Regions from separate parts of the Homo sapiens genome. Here region 1 is linked to region 2. The links are contacts of gene promoters, found by promoter capture Hi-C in human tissues and cell types (Jung and others, 2019). All regions are on one chromosome and are shown on one strand. The core of a region is centred on a gene start or on the middle of the fragment in contact, and the rest is flanking DNA. Distances in the headings are between cores, read along the strand shown. Region 1 has its middle 39 kb from the start of RBM47-AS1. Region 2 holds the start of RBM47 (RNA binding motif protein 47).

Region 1 (5,998 bases), core at 1,577-4,076, 240 kb after region 2:
AAAGCCTGCTTGATTTATCTGTCTCTTTGGGAGATGTTTAAATGCTTACCATTCTGTGAATTATTGCTTTATGTGTTCCAAGGCTATCTTAGGTGCATATTTGTTCATGATTCTTGATTTACAGTTCTTTTAACCAACATTTAAAGTGCCCCGTGTCCCTCATGATCATTTCTCATCTTAAATTCTATTTTATCTGTTGCTACCCTAGCTTTCTTCTGGTTTACCTTACTTGTGGTATTTAATTCCTTATTTTCAAATTTTCTATACCCTTTTGTTTTAAATACATCTCTTGTAGATAACATATTACTGGATGGAATTGGGAAAGATGGTTTTATTGATATTGTTGTCATTTTTGTTGTTTTGTAAATCTGAGAAGTTCTGTCTTCTGCTCTTTAATTCTAAGTCTGTACACTTTTTTATTTTATTTTATTTTTTTGAGACAGTCTCACTCTGTCACCCAGGCTGGAGTGCAGCGGCGTGATCTCCGCTCACCGTAACCACCGCCTCCTGAGTTCAAGCGATTCTCCTGCCTCAGCCTCCCGAGTAGCTGAGATTACATGAGCCTGCCACCACACCCAGCTAATTTTTGTATTTTTAATAAAGACAGGGTTTCACCATGTTGGCCAGGCTGGCTGAGACCTCTTCTTAGAAAAGTGAAATGGAAGATGGGGAGTCGGATTGTGAGGACACTAGCAAAGTTAGAGTTATCAGAAACAAAGTCAAATGAAGTAAATATGGAAAAACATGGTGTTCACAAATATTAAAATGTTTATGATTCTGTATCCCAGTATCACATGGGCTTCTTTAGCAGGTGTGCTAAGTGTCTTTTTCCAGTGTTTATGTTTTTTCCACCCTGTTTTCCTGATGGTCGTATTTGAGGGTAAATCAAATTCTTTTAAAACAATTGAACAAAATATGTTCCAACGCAATTTAAATCTAGTAATCACTCTTACAGAATGATTGAATGTACTTAACCATCTTTCTTCTCCCAGTTCTTGGGCCTGCTCTTTGATATCAAAGCCACTCCTCTCATCTGCAAAAGGGAATAATGTCACTGAACTCTATACTTCCAGAACAATTCATCACAGAAAAAGAACCGGAAAGACTGGCAACGGGGCAGTCTCGAAGAGTCATCATGCATTTGGCTGCTTTATTATTTTCCTTTGGTAGTCTCTCCATTTATGAAAAGTCCTAGAGATTGAAGTTTGGAGTTCTATTGACTCGCGCTTTGGTTCACTAACTATGAAAGGTTATTTTGCATCCTTTCACAGTGGTTGCAATCCCTTACAGAGAGAGAGCATTTTCCAGGCTGTGAAAACTTTCACATGTATTACGGCATTTACAGTCTTCCCTTGCCACTGGCATTCTGCAGTTGGGAAAATGGATGCTCAGAATAGTAGAGTGCATTTTTTGAGATTATTACACAGCTAGCCAGTGACGGAACAGGGACTTGAAGCCAGGATTTCTGACTCCAAGCTCAATACTCTTTTCACTTTTGTTGTTGTTGTTGTTTTGTTTTTAGTTAAAAAAAAAAAAAAGACCTGTAGACCTGCACACGGTCCAACCCTCCCCTAACTCTCTAACCTCATCTCCAGCCACACTGGCCTCCTCTCTGTGCCTCAATCACACGCAGCAAGCTTGTCCTTGGGGTCTTTACGTTTGCGGTTCCCTCTGCTTAGAAAGCATTTCCTCAAGACAGCCACATGGCTCACTCCCCCGCCTCCTTCAGGTCTGTGTTCACATAACTCTTCATTAAGAGGCCTTTCCCAAGCACTCTGTCTAAAGGAGCACACACACCTCTCCCCATCACTCTCTGTCTCCACGGCCCTGCTTCATTGTTCTTCATTGCTCTGTTGACTATTGAGTCTCATCCCCTGGAGAACATAAGCTCCATCATGACAGAGAGGTCTCCTGATTTGCTCATAGGTGCATCCCCAGTGCCTAAAACAGTGCTTGACACAGAGGAGGAGCTGGGAATGAATGAACAAATGAATGATCCTTTTCTGAGAAAATGTTGGCTCAAACACCTTCTCTTCTGGGTCCATAAGACTAAACAGGTTTTCATCAACCAAGATAAATACAACTGAGGGCACTAGTACACTTTTTCTTTTTCTTTTTGAGATGGCGCCTCGCTCTGTCGCCTAGGCTGGAGTGCAATGGCGTGATCTCGGCTCACTGCAACCTCCGCCTCCTGCATTTTTTGAGACAGAGTCTCACTCTGTCACCCAGGCTGGAGTGCAGTGATGCAATCTTGGCCCACTGCAACCTCTGTCTCCCGGGTTCAAGCGATTCTCCTGCCTCAGCTTCTCGAGATAGCTCAGACTACAGTTGTGTGCCACCGTGCCCAGCTAATTTTTGTAATTTTAGTAGAGACAGAGTTTCACCATATTGGCCAGGCTGGTCTCAAACTCCTGGCCTCAAACCATGTGCCAGCCTCAGCCTCCCAAAATGCTGGAATTACAGGCATGAGCCACCACTCCCAGTAGGATTTTTTTTTAAAGCAGTTTTACACTCACAGCAAAATTCAAAGGAAGCTATAGAGAGTTCCCACATACCCCTCCCCATACACATGCATAGTCCCCAGTGTATCAACATTCCCTTCCAGAGGGGTCCGTCTGTTACGCATAAACCCACATTGATAGTTCATCGTCACCCAAAGTCCACAGTTTACATCAGAGTTCACTCTTGGTGGTGTACATTCTGTGGGTCTGGACGAATGTATAATAGCATGTATCCACCATTACAGTATCATACAGAATATTTTGCTGCCCTAAAAATCCATTTATTTTTACATTTATTTTTCTTGGCCAGGCAGTTGCTCACACCTATAATCCCAGCACTTTGGGAGGCCGAGACAGGATGATCACTCGGGCCCAGAAGCTCGAGACTAGCCTGGGCAACATAGGGAGATTCTATCTCTACAAAAAAAAAAAAAAATTAATTAGCCAGATGCAGTGGCACACACCTGTGGTCCCATCTACTTGAGAGGCTGAGGCAGGAGGATCTCTTAAGCCTTGGAGGTTGAGGCTGCAGTGAGCCGTGACTGTGCCACTGCACTCTAGCTGGGTGACAGAGCAAGATCCTGTCTCTAAAGAAACAAAAAAACAAACAAATAAATAAATAAATACATTTTTCTTACAAGTAACATACTGGAGAAATTTAGAAAAACATTTTTAAAATTTTTATTACTTCTGATAACTCACAGAACAGGAATATCTTAAAAGTAAAATGAAGGCTGGGCACGGTGGCTCACGCCTGTAATCCCAGCACTTTGGGAGGCCAAGGTGGGTGGATCACTTGAGGTCAGGAGTTTGACTCCAGCCTGGCCAACATGGTAAAACCCCGTCTCTACTAAAAATACCAAAAATTAGCTGGGCATGGTGTCACATGCCTGTAGTCCCAGCTACATGGGAAGCTGAGGCAGGAGAATGGCTTGAACCTAGGAGGCGGAGGTTGCAGTGAGCCAAGATCGCACCATTGCACTCCAGCCTGGGTGACAGAGCAAGACTCCATCTCAAAATAAAAAAAGGAAAATGAAGTCAATAATTTCTTAGGCTGGGTGCAGTGGCTCACGCCTGTAATCCTAGCACTTTGGGAGGCCGAGGTGGGTGGATCACCTGAGGTCGGGAGTTCGAGATCAGCCTGACCAACATGGAGAAACACTGTCCATACTAAAAATACAAAATTAGCCGGGCATGGTGGCACATGCCTGTAATCCCAGCTACTCAGGAGGCTGAGGCAGTAGAATCACTTGAACCTGGGAGGCGGAGGTTGCAGTGAGCCGAGATCGCACCACTGCACTCCAGCCGGGACAACAAGAGTGAAACTCTGTCTCAAAAATAATAATAATAATAATAATTTCTCGTAATCCCCCTCCTTAGATATAACAACTGCTCAAAATTTTATGAGTTTCTTTATAGTCTTTTTAATATGTTATGCTTTTTTTACTCATATATACAACACTGATGGCCTCCCTTTCATTAGTCACATTTTTGATCATTTATTTCTATAAGATACTGCTCCAAAGTTTGCACCCAACTGGATGGCCATTTTTAAGCTGTTTTGAGACATATTGCCAAGTTGCTTGCCAAAGAGGTTGTACTAATTTACATTTCCTGCAGCAAGGCATGAGAGTACATATCTTACTGAGCCCCACTGAGCCTCCCTCCCCTCTCCTTCCCTCCCCTCTCCTTCCCTCCCCTGGCCTCCCCTCCCCTCACCAATGCTGACAAAAATTACACAGAAAACATGTTAATCAAGTTACTATGTAAAAAGATGAAATCAGCTGCTCCTACTCAATGACCACCTTACACTTCCCAGAGAGGCAATGAAAAAGCAAACGATAAAATCTGACCAATGGAGGTGCCCTCTTAGTCTATACAGTGCATTTCTCATTACCTGCCTTGTTTTATGATCACTACATACCTGCTCCCCAATTCTCTTATCCGATCTGTGGACAATCAAACCCCTGCCCCAAAGGCTTCTCTTCTCTTCTTCCTTCAAGCCACATTAAGGATCTCCCCATTTTTTGTAATTTTCCTGGTTAGCTCCTTGGGAATCTCCTGAACTCACAGCCCACTTCCCTGCCCACAGCAACTTGATCTCATCACGCACTGATTTGGCCTCTCCTACTCCTGATTGGCAGCATTTCTTACCTCCCTTCTTCCTTCTCTCCCTCCTTCCTTCCTTCCTTCCCTCCCTCCCTTTCTTCCTTCCTTCCTCCCTTTCTTCCTTTCTTTTTCTTTCCTTCTTTATTTCAGACAGAGCCTCACTCTGTTGCCCAGGCTGGTGTGCAGTGGCATGATCTCAGCTCACTGCAACCTCGTTTTCCTGGGCTCAAGTGATCCTCCTGCCTCATCCTCCTGAGTAGCTAGGACCACAGGCACGCACCACCATGCCTGGCTACTTTAGCATTGCTTTCTATTCCTCTGTCATTTGGAAGTTAAGAGGATATATGCAAGCCTCCCTACTTGGGTGTTTTGTTTTGTTTTGTTTGAGAGAAGGTCTTGCTCTGTTGCCCAGGCTGGAGTGCATTGGTGTAATCATAGCTCACTGCAGCCTCAGCCTCCTAGGAAGTGATCTCACTCCCTCAGCCTTCTCAGTAGCTGGGACTGTAGTCTCATGCCACTACTCCTGGCTAATTTTCTTTTAAATTTTTTTAGAGGCCGGGAAAGGTGGCTCACACCTGTAATCCCAGCACTTTGGGAGGCCGAGACAGGCAGGAGCACGAGGTCAGGAGATCGAGACCATCCTGGCTAACATGGTGAAACCCTGTCTCTACTAAAAATACAAAAAATTAACCAGGCATGGTGGTGGGCACCTGTAGTCCCAGCTACTCAGGAGGTTGAGGCAGGAGAATGGTGTGAACCTGGGAGGCAGAGCTTGCAGTGAGCTGAGATTGCGCTACTGCACTCCAGCCTGGGTGACAGAGCGAGACTCCGTCTCAAAAAAAAAAAATTTTTTTGGAGATGGGGATTTTGTTACGTTCCTCAGGCTGCTCTTGAACTCATGGCCTCAAGTGATTCTCCCACCTTGGCCTCCCAAAGTACTGGGATTACAGGTATGAGCCACTGCACCCAGTCTTACTTGGGTTTTTATTCTGTATATGTGAGATTTAAAAATTATTTTTAATTTTAATTTTTTTATTTCTGTGGGTGTATAGTAGACATATATATTTATGAGAGTACATGAAATATTTTGATACAGGCATGCAATTTATAATAATCCCATCAGGGTAAATGGGATATCCATCACCTCAAGCATTTATCCTTTCTTTGTGTTACAAGCAATCCAATTATACTCTTTTGGCTGTTTTTAAATGTACAATAAATTGATGTATTATCAAATACTAGATCTTATTAATTCTATGTAACTATATTTGTGTATCCATTAACCACCCCACTTCCCTCTTCCCTCTATCCCCATTACCCTTCCCAGCCTCTGGGAATCATCACTCTATTCTCTATCTCCCTGAGTTCAATTGTTTTAATTTTTTTTT
Region 2 (5,602 bases), core at 655-3,154:
GGATCACATAAAGTAAGAAGGGTGAAAGTGCTCCATAAAGTAGAAAGGGCCTCACTAATGGAAAGGGATTATGATTTCTTTCTTTAAATGTGAAGTTAAATGGAGGATAAAGGGTGGAGGCACTGATAACATTTTAGCCTTCAATAATCACTTTTTAATATTTATGAGGAGTTTCAAAATCATTTCCCTCTCTTTCATACTGCTTTTCAAACGGCAAGGGTCATTATTTGTCCGGCCCAGTCTGGGATAAGTAACTATCCCAGGGTAAGACACCAGGTCAAGTGCCAAAATACAAATGAGAATTAAGCATAGCAGATGGGTGATTGCTGGGCCCTGAATTTCCTTCCCGTTAGTGAGCTTCATGGAATGCAGGCAAATTTATCTCCATTTCTGTTGTCAATCTTGTAACTTTTAAGTGAGATGAAATTCAGTTGGCTACCCTTTACAGGGACTTTATTTCCCATTGTATTCAAGACTGTCAGCAATGAATATAAACTGTTTGTAAAAATCCCATCGTTAGAATCTTCCAGAAACTGAGGCTGGGAGAGATTAAATATCTTGCTCATGGCCTCACAGCTGGTGAGTGGCAATGCTGGTGCTACAGCCCATGTCTAACTCTGACCACACACTCTTCTTCAGAAAAAAGCCATAATGTAAATAATAATAAGAAGAATAACAACAACAATAACGGCAGCTAACACTGTGTGCTAGGCACCGTTCTAAGCTCTTTGCATGTGTTAACTCAACCAGCAAAGAACCATTTTTGGAACATTCTTTCACTAAAGTAGCCCGGTATTTTTTTCTTTCCCCTCAGCTGAATGACACTGCAACCCGAAATCACAACTCTGTTTTAGGTTCCTGGTGGTGCCTGCTTCCTCTTCTAGTTTGTTTAGTCACAGAATTCGATTCCTGTTGGCCCATTCCGCGCCTACAAACAGGCTTAGCGCTCCACTGAAATGCGGGAGGCTCCTTAACTCTTGTATAAACAGGTAAGGCGGAGGGGGTGGGGCGCGGATTGCGGACATCTGGGTTTCTTGGGAATTGGGATGGGGTGGGGGTTCGAGCCAACTCCCCAGAGAGCAGGCAAGGTGAAGCGAGGGCTTGGCTGCTGTTTCTAAATGCAGTGTTTTTTTGTTCCCTTTCTAGAAACCCTCCGTAACTCTAGGTCAGAGCGCACTAAAATGAGCCACTTCTGAACGAGCAGCGCCCAGGCCCCAGGCCCTGCTGCGAAGGCCCCGGCAAAGGTCAGGGCCCCGTCCGCGTGACGCTCCTGCCTGCGCGCGGCCAAGCCATGCTCGGCCCCAGGTAAGGACGCCCCGGGAGCTCGCCCCGGGAGCTCTCCCCGGGCACGCGGGGGTCGCAGAGATCCCACCTCGTCCAGCGACTTGTTTATGGGGGGAAGAAGGGGAGCGGGGCGGTTCCGATCGGCTTGAAATTCAGCAGCAGGTTCCTAATTTCTCCAACGTGGTTCTGGCTGGGTTTCTCGGAGCAGCCCGAAGGGGGCCGAGCGTCTGACTCGGACAGATGCCCCCAGGTGGAGCAGGTGCCACTTCTGGGTGTCTGAAAGGCATGTGACTTTTGGGGCGGGGAGAGAAGTCCGTCTGGTCAAGTCCCCCAATCTCTGCCATCAAGGCCGATTTTCTTTGAACCTTCAGCAAAGGTATCTGCGCTCCTAAAAAACAACAGGAATGTGGCACTGGCCTTTAGCCAGGGGAGGCTCAGCCAGCAGGATAAAATTTCAGGGCAGATTTACGGGAAGTTGCCGGTGTTGGGAGTAAAAATCTGGTTTGGTGAGTTTAAGGGAAGGGAGTAGACGAGAGACAACCTTGCTACTGTGAGGCGGATGGCCTCGGCAGGGGGCGGGCGGCGGGAGGAGAGAGGGAGGGAACCGGGAAGGGCCCGCAGACTAGACGCTGAGCGCTCCCGTGCGCAGCGCCCCACGCAGCCGGGACGCGGCGCCGCTCTGCGGGTGGAACCGCCGCGCGCTCCCGGCCTCGGGAGCTGAGCCCGAGAGAACTTCGCTGCCTTCGGGTCGCCGCTCCCGCTTTCCACTGTGGAATGTGCAGCTTGGGATAGAGAGAAACCAGGGTTTGGGGAGCGGTCCTCCTGGAGACTTTCTCTCTGCAAGTCTCCAAGGTTAAGCAATTCTGACCCACTGGAATTCCCAGAGCCTGGGAGTTAAGCCTAAAACGCTCTGTTGCTTTAAGCGGCGCGGTGGGGAGTCGCTGGACACTCCTTATTTTGGTTTTACATTAAAAAGAAGGCGGACGAGAAGATGTTGTAGGTGACTTCCTAGCTGTGTTAAGTTGCTCCTGGGCTGTGAATGGTGTTAATTTCTGAAGTGGGCGGCTCCAAAAACTTAACAAGGAAAGGTAAGGTGGTTTTTGGTAGTCCTTCTAACTATTGTCCCTTAATCTTACATTTGGGTCCCAATTTTTGAAGTGTATATTTTTTTCTTATTCTTCTCTCTTTAGCTCTTATCCCTCATGCTATCACTCATCTTCTGTCTCTTGGTATATTTAGTGGGAAATAAAGGGTTTATAAAACGGTTTTAAAAGGGTCAACCTCTGGGAAGGCAGATAATCATATACAGTCAGTCCCATCGTGTTTCCTGTAGTGATGAATCTTTTCCCATAAAAGAAACTGATTTTTTTTTTTCACTCTTGAAAATACATGATTGGACCGCCCAGAAGCACAGGTGACTTTAGACTCAGATTATTACAGTGAGACTGAGGAAGCGTCCTGGACAGGAGGCATCTCATTTAAGTGTTAACCAAGGCAGAGGGGGGTCTTCCTGCAGTAATTTACGTCTGAAAGTAACACTCGGTAGAGGTGTAGTTGTTTCAAATTAAAAATTCAGCCTGTAGAAAAGGGTAGGACTGACGAATTATGACATCTGACAAATTAGCAGTTGACCGGATATTTAAGAAATCAGATAAAATAAATGGAAGTGGAATTTTTCAAATAAATGACTCATTTTTTAATTAGGTAAAAGTTCAGCCACTCTTGGGTACTGTCCCAAGGCATAAGTGATAGGAAGATACCATCTTCAAGGTACTTACAGGCCATTACCGACCTGAACTAAAAATCAAACCTTTTTTTTTTATCTGGTGGTATTTTAATGACTCACTGTTTTCTTTAGCAGGAATATAGATTTTAAAATGTATTCTTTAAAAGTTTTAAGGCAAGGTCATACGAATTTCTCAGGGGAGGGAAAGCAAAGGGTTGACAACCCAACATGAAGGAGTTGCCGAAGTTTTGAGCTCAAAAGGTTGGCAATTAGATCCAGAGCATTTGAGAATTGCAGGTGCCGATTCTAAAAGGTGAAAGGTGGTCAGCGGCGTAACACACAACCTCTAGATAAACCAAAGTACTCAACCTAGAGCATAAGAAGAGATCACTTTGTGGGAGTTTGTGTTGCTATTAATTTAAACAATGATCTTTGTTAGATCAATGACTTGAAGTCTTGGAGGGAACTAAAATCAACCCAGTCTGAAAGGAAAACAGAAGGAAAAAAAGAAAGGAGGAGATGGTTTGGTTTTTAATATTTTTTTCTGGTCTGCTTTACCCTTCACCTTGTTCTGATATACACACTGTTGGCCTCTTTGACTTAATTATTGCATGCTGGAAGGATGGGGTCTCAGAAATTTCCCAAGCACCTAGCTTCATTATTAACTTTCAGTATGTGTCAAATGAAGAAATAAGCCTAGCTGTGCCGTCCTTTACCTGGCTAGGTAGGCCATGCTTTAAATTAATTAGATCAAGATATTCTGAATATCAATCAATTATTAAAGATTTATTATCTTCCTCTTGGTTTTTGCGTTTACAGAAGTTTGTAGGATTGAGAATTCATCATCATCATTTTTTTTACCAATCTCTATATTTTTAATAGTCAACATATTTATTTTTGATTCCCCCACTGTGCTGCTTTAAATTAAATTTTGAAAGAATTCTGCCCAAAGCAGTAGTGATACTGAGGATGAAATAAAGACAGAAAGCAAGGGAACTACATGCTTCTGGACACGTGTTCTATAGACTTGCTCTAACTAGTGTTAAAGACTACTCATTTTTTTCCTCACATGATAAGAACATTCATATTAGACTATTTGGTTTACTGTTCTAGGTAATGATTTTTTAAAAGATTGGGTTAAGATGAAATTATTTTCTTACAAAAGGATTTAATTTGCTTTTCAAATTCTGCTCTGAAGCTCAAGATTAAATCATGTCCCAAATGACTGAGCTTTCATTGCTATAGAAAAGCATTTGGCTATTTCAGTAAGTTTCCGCCTCCACATCTTAAGTCTCTTGATTTTTCAGAAAAGGTCAGGGGAGTGGATATAAGCGTGAAGGGAGGGAGATTTTCTTAAAATTGGACCCAGGCTCAAGTGAAACTGTGATTAGGTAATCCCAGAAGATACATAATTCTGGGGAAAAAAAACTCTGAAGAGGGTTTAAGTTTGGGATTCATGAGACTTAGAAAAAGGGTATGCTTAGAATAAAGGTAGAATTTGTGTGCCAAACTTTGATGAAGTTACAATGAAGACATTAAATGCAGCTTTAAGTGCTTGTCACCGTGATTCCAAGCTACAGGTTATATTGCAGTGTTTCAGCTACTGGCCTGATTAGGAGATATATTTTCTTTCCCTCTTGGGAACAGTCTCTGTGTCTTAATGATGATGCTGATTTTCTGGTTTAATATCATAAAAGGTGTGTGTTGGTCCCAACATTACTGCTCCAAGTAGTGGCTTCAAAGAGCAACTGGATAAAGATTTTCAATAATAGCAATGCAGAGATGACCTGGGTTTCAAGATAGGAGGCCTTTGGAGCCTTCAGAGAATTGTCATAGAAATGATCAGTAACTAATTGCTCAGTTGCCACCTCAAGTTGTTGTTTCCATCTTATGCGGGAGAGATTCGGGGGAAATGGCACCCTGCCATTTTTTGTGTGTGGTCCTGAATCATCCTGTTGGTAAAACTCCTGAGGTCGTCTGAGCTGGAGTTCTGATTGCTTCTGTTTCTCTCATAGTTGCTTCCCCGTCTATTCTGTGAGCGTCTGTATGGGGAGAGGCAGTGGGGAGGGCGATCTCGTCCCCTTGAAGTCAATGACCACCTGCTTTTAAGGTTCTCGTATCTTTTGCTCTGAAAAAGGTGTGGGGGAGGAAAACTTTCATTTTCCAGCGAAAGTAGAAAGGGAGAGAGTGTCTAGAGGAATAAACGGCCAAGAAACAGGTAAGTTCTGAATGTGGTCCTAGTGTGGAATTTACCAGAAAGCTCACATGGAGATTACCACTGCCCTCAAAGGATTGCAGGTAAACTAGCAACTGTGGGAAGTGGAGGCTCCTCCTCTCCTTTTGTAATTCAAATGTTCCTAGTGTACTGCAATAGACACTAGTTTGAATGAATTCAAGATATCATCTCTTGGTAAAACCAAAAGTAAACTGATTACAAAAGGCACAAACCCTTCAACCATACTCCCACTGTCTGCCTTTCCTCTACTTTCTGTGTGGTTTAAGTACACCTGAAAAAACAAAACAAAACAATTACAGCTCAGTTTATGTAACTTGCATATTTAACAGGAGCATCTTTTTTGGTTGTTATGAATC

The links. The method cuts DNA at HindIII sites, captures the fragments that hold promoters and counts their contacts. A contact is called where the count stands out against the background at its distance.
Region 1: a fragment that was not itself captured here is called in contact with the fragment with the promoter of RBM47 in region 2 in 2 of the 25 tissues and cell types used here (IMR-90 fibroblasts and heart left ventricle).

What each region holds. Positions count from the first base shown.
Region 1 is chr4:40,384,169-40,390,166 of GRCh38, reverse strand. No RefSeq gene overlaps it. Among named protein-coding and RNA genes, the nearest start is that of RBM47-AS1, 39 kb to the left of the region's middle. The HindIII fragment of the contact is 4,161 bases long and covers 746-4,906 here.
Region 2 is chr4:40,626,166-40,631,767 of GRCh38, reverse strand. RBM47 (RNA binding motif protein 47) reads left to right here and starts at 1,904. Exons shown (of 7, transcript NM_001098634.2): 1 at 1,904-2,372. RefSeq lists enhancers at 2,041-2,110, 1,293-2,170, 2,171-3,047. The HindIII fragment of the contact is 13,848 bases long and covers 1-5,602 here.